3 separate regions of the Homo sapiens genome follow, and all the other regions are linked to region 2. The links are contacts of gene promoters, found by promoter capture Hi-C in blood cells and fetal thymus (Javierre and others, 2016). All regions are on one chromosome and are shown on one strand. Each heading gives the region's core, a stretch centred on a gene start or on the middle of the fragment in contact. The rest is flanking DNA. Distances are from core to core; before and after follow the strand shown. Region 1 holds the start of CEP290 (centrosomal protein 290). Region 2 holds the start of CAPRIN2 (caprin family member 2). Region 3 overlaps RAB3IP (RAB3A interacting protein).

Region 1 (3,533 bases), core at 1-2,500, about 57 Mb after region 2:
TTTTTAGTGGTGATGTAGATATTACCAGGTATTTTCACAAAGATTACCTTATATAAGAACAGATTTTTATAGTTCCACTAATAGCCAAACCTATAGTTAAAACCTACTACATACAAACCTTCATTAGTGACTGAGTAATTCTGAAAAGGTGTATCACATTTTCTTGCTTTTCACTTTTTAGCTCATTTACTTCCACCTAAGTAAACAGAAAAGCAACTGTTTTATATTTTATAACCTTCAAGCAAAATATAAGAACACTTCCAGATTGTGACAATTATAGTTGTCCCTGAAAAAAATAAATTCATATTTTATTAATAAATTAATCATAAGTTAATGTATATATCTATTATTATTGACCAATTAAGCACCTTGGATAAGGAAATCAATAAATTATCTGCCAGTTCTTCTTGACGGGGCAGGTCATCTGGGTCAACTTTCATTATTTCTTTCCAGTTTATATTAGGTGGCATCTTGAATTCTTTCACTGTGCTCCACCTCTGTAACAAAACAGGTGTATATTAGCATTTTCAAGGTACACAGTATTATTGGTTTTCTAGCACCTTACATTTTTTGCAGATTATTTCATTATAACTTTCTGATGTTAGCAAAACAGACAATTGGGCCACAAAATAGACAAGTGGGCAAAATAGCCTTGATCAAAAATAGCAGTCGGCACAAACTGTCAGAGTGTCCCGGCTAAATAAAATGTGACGGCTTCCTTGCTAACACTAATCTAAGTTAATACTTAAGATTTCTGGATCCCTTCCTCCACACCCCTACCCACAATGCGCGCGAACACCCTAATCCTGGCAAGCGCGAGGGTCTGTGGAAGGCCGACAATCATCCCTGATTTGGAGAAACAGAATTGGGGCTGAAAAAAAACGCAGAAATTAACATTTGGAATGAGTGAAGTTGTGCGGCGGAAACTGGAACCGAAGCAAGGCAGTATTAGGGACCCGAGGCTGGAAGGGCGGGGTAGCTATGCTGTGGCACACGGGCCCTCAGGCTAAAGAACCTGAGCGTGGAGTGACTCGCTAATCCTGCTTACAAGGATCCACCCACCTAGACCAAGCCTGGCAACCAGCGGAGGCCTCTCACTACCGCAACCACCAAGCTGGACCCGGCCGCGGGCCCTGACAGATCCCTATCGCGGTTCCACGCGGACTCTGGGTCCAGCCAAATGGTCCCGAGCAAGCCAAAGCGGCAGCGGCTGCTAGGCGACACCATCCCCAACTCCGCCAAGGCCAGAATAAGATCCCGGATGCCAGGAGAGCCTACAGTTCACGACCGTGGGTGATGCTTTACGTTTAGATTCTCCGCCGGAGTCCCAGAGCTCGGTGTTCAGGATGATGAGAAGGCGTGGAACGAGGACTTCAAATCCCAGAGTGCAGTTCTGCCTGAGGCTTCTGCATGCTGGGAACTGAAGTCCCTGAGAAGAGGAGGTAAGGCGCTCCCGGCATGCAACGCGTAAGACTGCGACGGTACCGGGGCGGCGGGGAAGGACCGAGAGGCGGGAGGAGCAGCGGCTCAGGCGCCTGCAAACTGGTGGCCTGAACGAGGTAGACCATGACTGTGGTTTCAGTGGCGTCACTCGCTGGGCTGCTCTTCCTGAGGTTTTCCTAAGCCATCCCCTGGCGGAACCGCCCCCAGGTGAGGTCGAGCTGTCGGTCAGCATATTGGGAGGAATTGAGGGGAGCAGTCCTGGGTTAGAGAAGCTTCTGCTATTGGGGCCGTAGGGCCTGGTCCCATTCTGAAAAAGTGGGAACACCCTGCCTTCTCTTCAGGCGTTTGCAAGCGGCGTCCAGGGTAGTGCCTTCTGTAAGAAGGAAAAAACAAAAAGTTTTAGCCTTGTTTAGTATCAGAATCTGTCTTGATAGTTAGAGTGAGAGCCGCGCAGCCGTGATCCTCGTTTGGGGGCGAGCGAAGAATTGACAAGAGGTCTCGGCATCCCGACCCCGCCCGCCTTACCTGTAGCACCATTCCTTTCGCGGATCGTGGGGCTTGATGGTTGTGGAGCTAGTATAAAGTCAAGGCTCTAGAGAGGAGAGGTTAGTACTTGTCCGGACCACTGCCGGGGGTGGAGAGAGAAGGGATCCAAGGACTCACCTGTACTATTGTTGCCACTTGCTTGGTTACCTAGGGTGCCCTTCCATGAAAGCGCCTTCTCTGGTGTTTACCACTCTTACTCGTGCAAGTTTTGCTCATCCTGCTCGTCTGCTCACAATCATGCTGGAGTATGATACATCTCTACCTAACTTTCCTAAGAAGCTGTAGACTTAAATCTAAATGACATTTCCAACTATCTGGACCAGTGCTTTGTCTTTTTTTTTTTTTAAACGCTGCTTTAAAAAAAAAATTACTGTACTTGACAGTAAATTTTCCTTTCGAAAATAAGTAATGAGTTTCTTTTTAAACCCCCAATTTGGGTAAAATAAGTAGCTCAGTACAAAATAAAAAGATACTGATTTTGTGAGATGAATTTTAAAGACATTAGTTAGATTTATAGGAATGACAATTTTACTACTTTTCTGAAAGATTATATGCCAAATACTATTCATTATCTTGTTTATTCTTCCTTACAATCCAGTGAAATAGGTGCTTACATTGTCCTCATTTTCCATCTGAGTTAAGAAACTGAGGCTTGGAGAAGCTAAGTAACTTAAATAGTGTGATTGAACACAGATCTCTCTGGCTGGAGGACATATTCTTAACTTCTATACACCTCCTCAGACATTCTGGGAAACCAATATTTGTGAAGTGCTTGTTCCTCAATCTTGCTATTTTTATTAAATGTTATATTTTAATTTTGTAAGTGTTTACTCAATAATTTGAATTAAACATTCTTCATGTTCAGTGTTCTTAATTCATAATTTAACATGGGATGGTGTTTCTGGAAAGGTGTTCTGATCTGGACCCCAGGAGAGGGCTCCTGGATCTCGCCAAGAAAGAATTGGAGGTGCATACACCCCCATTGGAGGTGGTAGACTAAGGATTGTTATAGTTATTTCTTGATTATATGCTAAACAAGGGGTGGGTTATTCATGAGTTTTCTGGGAAGAGGGTAGGCCATTCCTAGATCTGAGTGTTCCTCCCCTTTTTAGACTATATAGAGTAACTTCTTCACATTGCCATGGCATCTGTAAACTGTCATAGCACTGGTGGGAGTGTCTTTTAGGATGCTAATGCATTATAATTAGTGTATAATGAGCAGTGAGAACGAGCAGACGTCCCACCTTTCTCGCCATCTTGGATTTGGTGGGATTTGGCTGGCTTCTTTACTGCATGCTGTTTTATCAGCAAAGTCTTTATGATCAGTATCTTGTGCCCACCTCCTATCTCATCCTGTGACTTAGAATGACTGACAGACATCCTGAGAATGCAGCCCAGTAGGTCTCACCCTTATTTTACCCAGCCCCTATTCAAGATGGAGTTGTTGTGATTCAAATACCTCTGACAATGGTAGGAATGAAATTTAATAGTTACTGAGCACATGTTATGTCATACACTATGCTGACTACTGCGTGTTTGTTTTC
Region 2 (3,916 bases), core at 766-3,265:
TAGTTCTACTACGGTTAAACCTTCCAACGACTGCAGCAGTTATACTGCAATATCAACTGCTGCAGAAAGTCACAAGGAAAACAAGCTAAAAAATCAGCTATTAACACATCTATGAAAAGAAACATTAATACTACATAAGGAATTAATCTCACCTAAAATAGCTAGCTCTTAAAGTATTTCAACAGCAGCATGCATAATGTAACTATGAAGAATATTTTTATTCCGTTGTTTTGACAAATGAAACAGAAAATGTTTAATATTTCCAACACGTAACCTGCTTGTTTAAAGCAGCTAAACCTAAGGTTAGTTAAATTTTTAGTAGAGAACACCTATGAGCTCTGAAAGAAAAATGTCAGCTCCTTAATCTTTAAGATCATGCATCTACAGGACTGGAAGAAAAAAAGTTACCTTCTTTTTCTCGATGTTTCTAATTTTGTGTTTAAGGCATATGAGTCCATTTTCAATATAGGTCTCATACGCTTGGGAAGGAGATGCAGCAGAACTCAGAGTAGACTGCAGGGGGCTCAAGGCCCGCTGGCTTTCCCCATGCTGACTGTGGTTCACTTGGGGCTTGGCTGACTTCATATTCCCCTCTCTTTCCTCCTCTGAATGGCCTGAAGGTGACTGGTAACCAAAAGGGGATGAAAAGAGTTGCACCATTGAAACAGATGAGGCTGAAGGAGGTGGGGGAAAGTTAAGTATAAAATTAGGACTAGAGGGACACAGCCAGGCAATAACTTCCCTGGAAAGTCTAGACCACTCCCTTAAACTCTTTTCCACAGAAGTGAGCTCGAAACCCAATGATGCTTGAGATACTTGTACTTCCATCCTACTTTTAAAGTAATTAGTGCCGCTAGCCAATAAGGATAGCCTTTACATAGGCAAAATCTCCCAATACGGAGGATGTTTCCAGAAATTCGATTTTCCACATAGGGAGGAAGAACTGCAACGGCTTCAGAGCTCCTTTCTTCTCATGAGGGCAGATCACATTCTAAATAATTCCCATGGCCACGTGATGACACCAAAAGAATAAGCTTTCCACACCGGGACCTAAGGCTGAGCCACTCAAACCTCTTTACATGATCCCTCACCACCAGCCCTAACCTCAATCCTGAACGTTTGGAAGAAAATCCAAACTCACAACATTCTTTTATAGCTCTAAGTGAACCAGCAGCTTCTTGAACAAGAATGCTAACTTCCCCGATTGCTCTGGGGCCTACAAGGCAATCCATCACTACTGGACATTTGCAGACAGGTACTCTCTCAACCTGCAGGAACCCCGCGTTTATTCTCAGTTGTTTGGTTTAGACTAGCCCAAAACCGCTTACACCCAACCAGTTTAAGAGCTCATTCTAGCGAGCCCTTCCCGTGCCCTAATCAGTGGCCCTTGCGCACTTACGTATCCGTCTCTCGACCTCCAAGCACCCGAGGTATCCCTTTCTCCCCCCTTAGGAGCATCCCCAAACCAAGGACAGAACAGGCCCCATGCACGCCAGCGCGCACCCCCTCAAGTCTCCGGGGGAGCCTGAGCGAAGAGCACCTCTCCCGAGCGGCCACGGAGAGCCCTGCAGGCACCGACCCCCACCCTTCCCACAGCCGCCCCGGGTACGCAGAAGCCGCTTCTGCAAGGCCCCGGGGGAGGCTGACCTGCGGAAAACGCACCGACCGCGGCCCTCGGGAGCCCCGCCCCGCCCCGGGGATGCCAAGCCGCCCCTCCACCTCGCAGCGGCGCCGGCCGCCCAGACCTGCCCACCCTCGCCGGGTCAGCCGCCTCCCTCCGCCGCGCCGACCGAGGCCGCCGCAGCCCGACTTCACCTCCCCAGGCAGCCGAGGCCGCCGCTGCCGCAGCCCGGGCCCGCCTTCCAAAGCCTGGGGGAGGCAGGAGCGCTGCGGAGGTGGACCGGCGCCACCCCGCACTCGCGTCTCCTCCTCCTGTCTCCTCCCTCTCCCCTCCCGGTCCTCGCCCGCGGCCTCTGCGGCGCCAGAGACCCAGCCGACTCAGCCGCTCGCGCCCAGGCCCGCCCACCGCGCCGCGCGTGGCTTTTGTAGGCCGCGCCCCGCCCCGGCCCGCTCCGCCCTCGGCCGCCCCGCCACCGCCTCCTTCCGGTGCTCCTTCCCGGCTGCAGCTGGCCGCCAGCGCTTGTCGGGTGTTAGTTCCGGGCCCAGCTTGGGCTGGTGGTAGGTCGGGAGAGGGCGCGGTCTCCCAGCCTTTGCGCAGATTGCGGGGCACCAGGTGGGGCCGAGGCGACGCCGAACGCCGGCAGGCCGGAAACCGCGCAGCCCCGCTGGACCTCGCTGATTGCCGGCGGCACCGGTGGTTTCGCGACCTTGAACAGGTGACTCCAATAGCTCCAGGAGGGCAGCGAGCCCTTCGCGGAACTACCAGATAAGCCATGCTTGAGGCTGTCGTAGCCTAGTGGGTAGTCGTGAAATGCAGATGCGCCTTTGCCCCTCAGATAGCATCTTTCATAGTAGGATGGGGAAAAAACACCGTTTCCTTACCGGGGAATCAGCCTGTAAGAGCAGAATGCCCCAAATCAGCATCGCCATAAAAACGGAGTAGGTGACTTCGCAACCTGCAATAATAGGATTGAGTTTATTCAAGCCGTATTATTTGTTCATGTGACACACATTAATTGACTGGCACGCAGAGAAAGCTGTAAAAAATCTTTGTAAGGTTACATAAAATTAAGAGAAAAGTCTGGAAATATGTAAAAGTTTATTGAGGAAAGGAAGGTGTTTCTGATACCAAATAAGAAACACACACACACACTCAGCAATACTTTGCCCCAACATGTGTTTACTTATTACACCAAGTGGAGTTTTTTAGGTCCTGATTGTCCCTGACGCTCTGATAAAAAATATTGAGACTAGCAAAAGAACAGAAAATTCAGAAGAAGAATCAAGGAAACAAAGGTCTAGTTTTAAAAGCCTTGGTCAACTTCACACAAATTAATTTTAACATTACTTAATACATTTTTTTGGCATCTATTATCCGTGTTCTTTTCGGTCCCTGGTGACATAATGTACCCTAATGTTGCATTTTAACTTTGAATCTCTGAATCCCATATGTGTTCTTCAGGGTCAGAGAAATACTAGATTTTCCCTTTTTCTCATTGTTTATAAACAGAGAAACGCAGAAGATGCTGAACATGAGGAGAGGAAGGCTATGCCTTCACCTTTGGTAACACAAAAAACAGTGGCCATAAGAAAAAATGTGAAGGACACACTGTTGGATCAATGAGTTGACACAAAGTTACAGCACAGCCTGAGTTGTAGTCCGAGCTAATGATGAACCTAAAAATGGTATTTCAGTCAGATTAATCATGAAATGTTTGCCCCCTGCCGGCGCAGTGGCTCAAGCCTGTGATCCCAGCACTTTGGGAGGCCGAGGCGGGGTGGATCACCTGAGGTCGGGAGTTCGAGGCCAGGCTGGCCAGCGTGGTGAATATCCATCTCTACTAAAAATACAAAAATTAGCCGAGCATGGCGGCATGTGCCTGTAATCATGGCTACTCAGAGGCTAAGGCAGGAGAATCGCTTGAAACCCGGAGACGGACGCTGCAGTGAGCCGAGATTGTGCCGCTGCACTCCAGCCTGGGTGACAGAGCAAGACTCTATCTCAAAAAAAGAAAGAAAGAAAGAAATGTTTGCCTTCTAATCGGTCAGGCAAAAAGGAGGCCGTAAATTTTAAATTTTCTACTAAATGGATATTCTTCTAAATGAATAAATCCATACAGATTTACTTCTCAGGAAGGATTATAAAAATGCATCACGAAAGAATGCAAAAGCAAAAATAATTGAATTTCAAGTCCAGTAGGGTACAGTCTGTATACGTATGGCGTGACATTTGTAGGAGAACATACCACAGTAGATACTCTTGAAGCAATGTCTTCTGAACAAGTTAAAAAGATGA
Region 3 (3,621 bases), core at 114-2,613, about 39 Mb after region 2:
ATGGAAGGTAGGGCCTTATAATCATTCCCATATCTTTTATAAGTTCTTCAAAATGTAGAACGCACTTTACATATTTTAATGAATGTCAACTAAGACAAAGTGCTAGGATAGTTGAGTAGTGGAGAGGAAGGACAGATGGATAGTGGGTAGAGATATTTGTGCATTGAGGTAATGAGGGAAAGCTTTGAAGATATTCCAAGGGAGTACGCTTTTTCACACTAAACTTTTTTCCGATATAATTCTGATTAAGATGCAGTTCATCAAAGGATAGTAAATTGGTTACTACGCATTTGATATCCTAAAAACAAAATATCTGAGCTTTTGTAAACTGCTTTCTAGCTTGTTTCTCCTTTTTTATGCTACTATCCTTAGTTGTACCAGATGGTACTCTTTTTAAAAATTTTATGCTTTTATAATACTGAGTACCTCTTTTTTGGTATTTATGAACTTTGATATTTGTGTTGTATTTGTAATTGTTTCTAGGGCCCTAGAAACATGTTTATTGGCAAGGTGGTCTCTTCCTCTAGTCTACAAGTGCTTCGAGAGTAGGGCTTACCTCATTTTATAGCTTTAACATCGGGCCAGGTAAGTACTGTGCTGTGTTTGGTGATGGATGATCAGTTGAAGAATGTTAGGATGTTTTGAAGCTGCTCTAGCAGTAGAAATTGAAATGAACATTGAGAAATGAAGGGACAAAGGAAGGAAGAGGAAGATATTTATACAACTGGGAGCATTAACTTGCTATCTCTATTTTCCCTTCTGCTTTCCTTTTCAACTTACCACTAAATGAGGTAGTTTTATAAGCTTACATCGTACATAGTCATGGTTAGAGAAAAGTGGAAAAAGTAATCTGATTTATCTTAGAATATAGGGCAACACGAAATTAGATAACTATAGCCGTAAACTGATATTACTTAGAGGAAAAAGAATGAAAATTATTCAAATAGTTCAAGTTCATGAAAGATTTGATGCTTGTCGTTAACAGTAGGATTGTAAATATAATCATAATGGCAGTTGATGAAATTCCTCTGAGGGGTATGGATACATACACAAATAAGTATATGAATTGACAGCTTAGTATGAAGAAACTATTCAAGAATGTGAGAATGCCCTATGAGCATAAAGGAGCATATAGATGATAGCTTAGAACCACTTAAATAAGTGAATTGTAATTTGATATGCCCAGATAAAAGTAATAGTATTGAATATTTGTTTGGGAGCATCTGGTTGTCAGATAAGGATAAAGTATAAAAGAAAAACCAAAATAAGTTTGAAAAAACAATAAGCAAATTTGTATCAATTCCCTGTGGGGAAAAGAATCATATTTGAACTACATGCCTCATAAAGACTAGTTTTCCCTTTCTTTCCTTTTACCTAAGATAAATAAAGATACCTTCTGATTTGTAAGACAAACCCCTCAGTATGCTTTTGCTATTTCCCCCATTACATTTTTTTCTTTCTTAGATCTTTATAAAATCATACATTTATGTTGTGCTTTACAATGTATACATTTTTACATTGATATGCCATTTGATTTTCTCAAATGTAGGCAGGGGAGATAATATCACTACCATTATAGATGTCAAAACTGAACCTTAGAGAGATTAAATGACTTGCGTCAGTTCACACAGCTTGTCAGTGACAGAATCTGAACTAGAAGGAAGGTTTTCTGAAGTTAGTCTGTTAAAATGCTCAGGTTTTCTCAAACTTCAATTTCTCCAGTTTTGATACTCTCGCAAAGTATTTACTGTTTCATTTCTATCTTTTTCAGCAAAAATGTAGCCTGAATAACTGTCTCCACTCTTTACCGCTTTGCTATTCATTCCTTCTCTAAAGACTCTTGTTTATTTATTTAGTCAGTGCGTATTTCAGCACCTGTTGAATGTTTAGTTGGCATATATTCTTAAGAGAATATGTAAAATGAAGCTTCCATTATTGAGAAAAAGAAATTTGGAAAATGATTTTTTTAAAAAATTATACTTTTAAGTTCTGGGATACATGTGCAGAATGTGCAGGTTTGTTACATAGGTATACACGTGCCATGGTGGTTTGCTGCACCGGTCAACCCATCATCTACCTTAGGTATTTCTCCTAATGCTATCCCTCCCCTAGCCCGCCACTCCCCCACAGGCCCTGGTGTGTGATATTCCCCTCCCTGTGTCCGTGTGTTCTCATTGTTCATCTCCCACTTATGAGTGAGAACATGCGGTGTTCTGTTAATTTAAATAAATATTTAATTACAAATAAATATTTGTAATTAAATATTAGCTCATTGTATTATTACAAATAATTATTTGTAATTAAATATAATATTAGCTCATAAGTTCAGAACATTTTCTGAAAACTGTCAACATAACACACTGCAATAACTAACATCTCTACACATGTCAGGTTGTACATTGAAGTGTTGTGGAATTAGGCCGGGCATGGTGGCTCACACCTGTAGTCCCAGCACTTGGGAGGTTGAGGCAGACAGTTACTTGAGGTCAGGAGTTCGAGACAAGCCTGGTCAACATGGCAAAACCCCATCTCTACTAAAAATACAAAAAATTAGCTGGGTGTGGTGGCAGGCGCCTGTAATCCCAGCTATTCAGGAGACAGATGTTGCAGTGAGCCGAGATTGTGCCACTGCACTCCAGCCTGGGCGACAGAGCGAGACTGCATCTCAAAAAAAAAAAAAAAAAAGTATTGTGGAATTAGTGGGAATTCATTTGTGATCTATTATAATAAAAATGGGAAAATTGTGTAGCCTGATTGACCATTTGAGTAATTTTGCCCTTGGGCTATTAATTACATTTGCATTTATAAACATAGAATGCTTCTTAAAAGATAAATGTGATTTTTTTTGTCATAACTAAAATGCTAGTTTGGGAAGCCAACTTTAAAATTATTATGAAAGCTAATGAAAAAATGATTTTATATATATACTTGTTTTGTTTTTTCCTCCTTTATTATACAGTATTTGAATAAATTTTGAACTTTCCTTTTTATTTTGAGAGCACTATAAATTATGGAGAGTTTCAAATAAGGTAAGTAGACACAATAGTATAATGAACCTAAAAGTTTCCATCATGTAGCCCAGTAACTATCAACAGTGATCAGTCCTCATCCATCCACTTCTCCCACTTCTATATTATTTTGAAACAAATTGCAAGTCCTGTGTAATTTCACCTGTAGGTATTTCAGTATTTCCCAAAGATAAGAGCAGTTAACTGCAGTACTTTTACAAACTTTGTTCTTTATTTATTTTTTCATTTTAATCTACATTTCCTGCTTTTATTATTACAAATTTTCAAAAATTAACACTAATTCCTTGGTATAAAATATCTACACTTTTTAAAAAAATACACAGGAATATGGGTACTATAGTAAATTCAAGTTTCTGTTTATTTTGATTTATGTGCTGTTTTTTTTTTTCCAAGTCCTGTAAGGAGCTGAATAAGTATTAAATTCTGGCATAGTAACAAAACAGAGGAGGAAATGATAACAAAAATAATATAGGGGAAAATAATAGAACACAAAGCAATAGCAAATGCTCATTTCAATAGCAGTGCTTTAGAGAAACTTCAGTTTTGTCTTTGTGAAAGTAAGAGAAGGGTTCAGAGATTAAACATTATTATT

The links. Contacts are between HindIII fragments. The CHiCAGO score rates a contact against its expected background, and 5 or more counts as called.
Region 1: a contact is called between the fragment with the promoter of CEP290 here and the fragment with the promoter of CAPRIN2 in region 2, in 1 of 17 cell types (non-activated CD4 T cells). The highest score is 7.0, in non-activated CD4 T cells.
Region 3: a contact is called between a fragment that was not itself captured here and the fragment with the promoter of CAPRIN2 in region 2, in 1 of 17 cell types (non-activated CD4 T cells). The highest score is 6.7, in non-activated CD4 T cells.

Annotation. Positions count from the first base shown.
Region 1 is chr12:88,140,838-88,144,370 of GRCh38, forward strand. It overlaps CEP290 (centrosomal protein 290), which reads right to left and starts at 1,251. Exons shown (of 54, transcript NM_025114.4): 1 at 1,063-1,251; 2 at 369-497; 3 at 119-196. The coding sequence starts at 470. TMTC3 (transmembrane O-mannosyltransferase targeting cadherins 3) reads left to right here and starts at 1,470. Exons shown (of 14, transcript NM_181783.4): 1 at 1,470-1,650. RefSeq lists enhancers at 1,091-1,530, 1,337-1,840. The HindIII fragment of the contact is 8,380 bases long and covers 1-1,713 here.
Region 2 is chr12:30,752,936-30,756,851 of GRCh38, forward strand. CAPRIN2 (caprin family member 2) reads right to left here and starts at 2,016. Exons shown (of 19, transcript NM_001385503.1): 1 at 1,816-2,016; 2 at 409-624. The coding sequence starts at 585. It overlaps LOC645485 (a long non-coding RNA gene), which reads left to right and starts at 2,139. Exons shown (of 2, transcript NR_135046.1): 1 at 2,139-2,336. RefSeq lists enhancers at 1,390-1,469, 1,473-1,642 and silencers at 1,570-2,249, 3,341-3,544. The HindIII fragment of the contact is 2,894 bases long and covers 1,033-3,916 here.
Region 3 is chr12:69,742,025-69,745,645 of GRCh38, forward strand. All of the region lies in intron 1 of RAB3IP (RAB3A interacting protein), which reads left to right. Among named protein-coding and RNA genes, the nearest start is that of RAB3IP, 5.0 kb to the left of the region's middle. The HindIII fragment of the contact is 1,122 bases long and covers 803-1,924 here.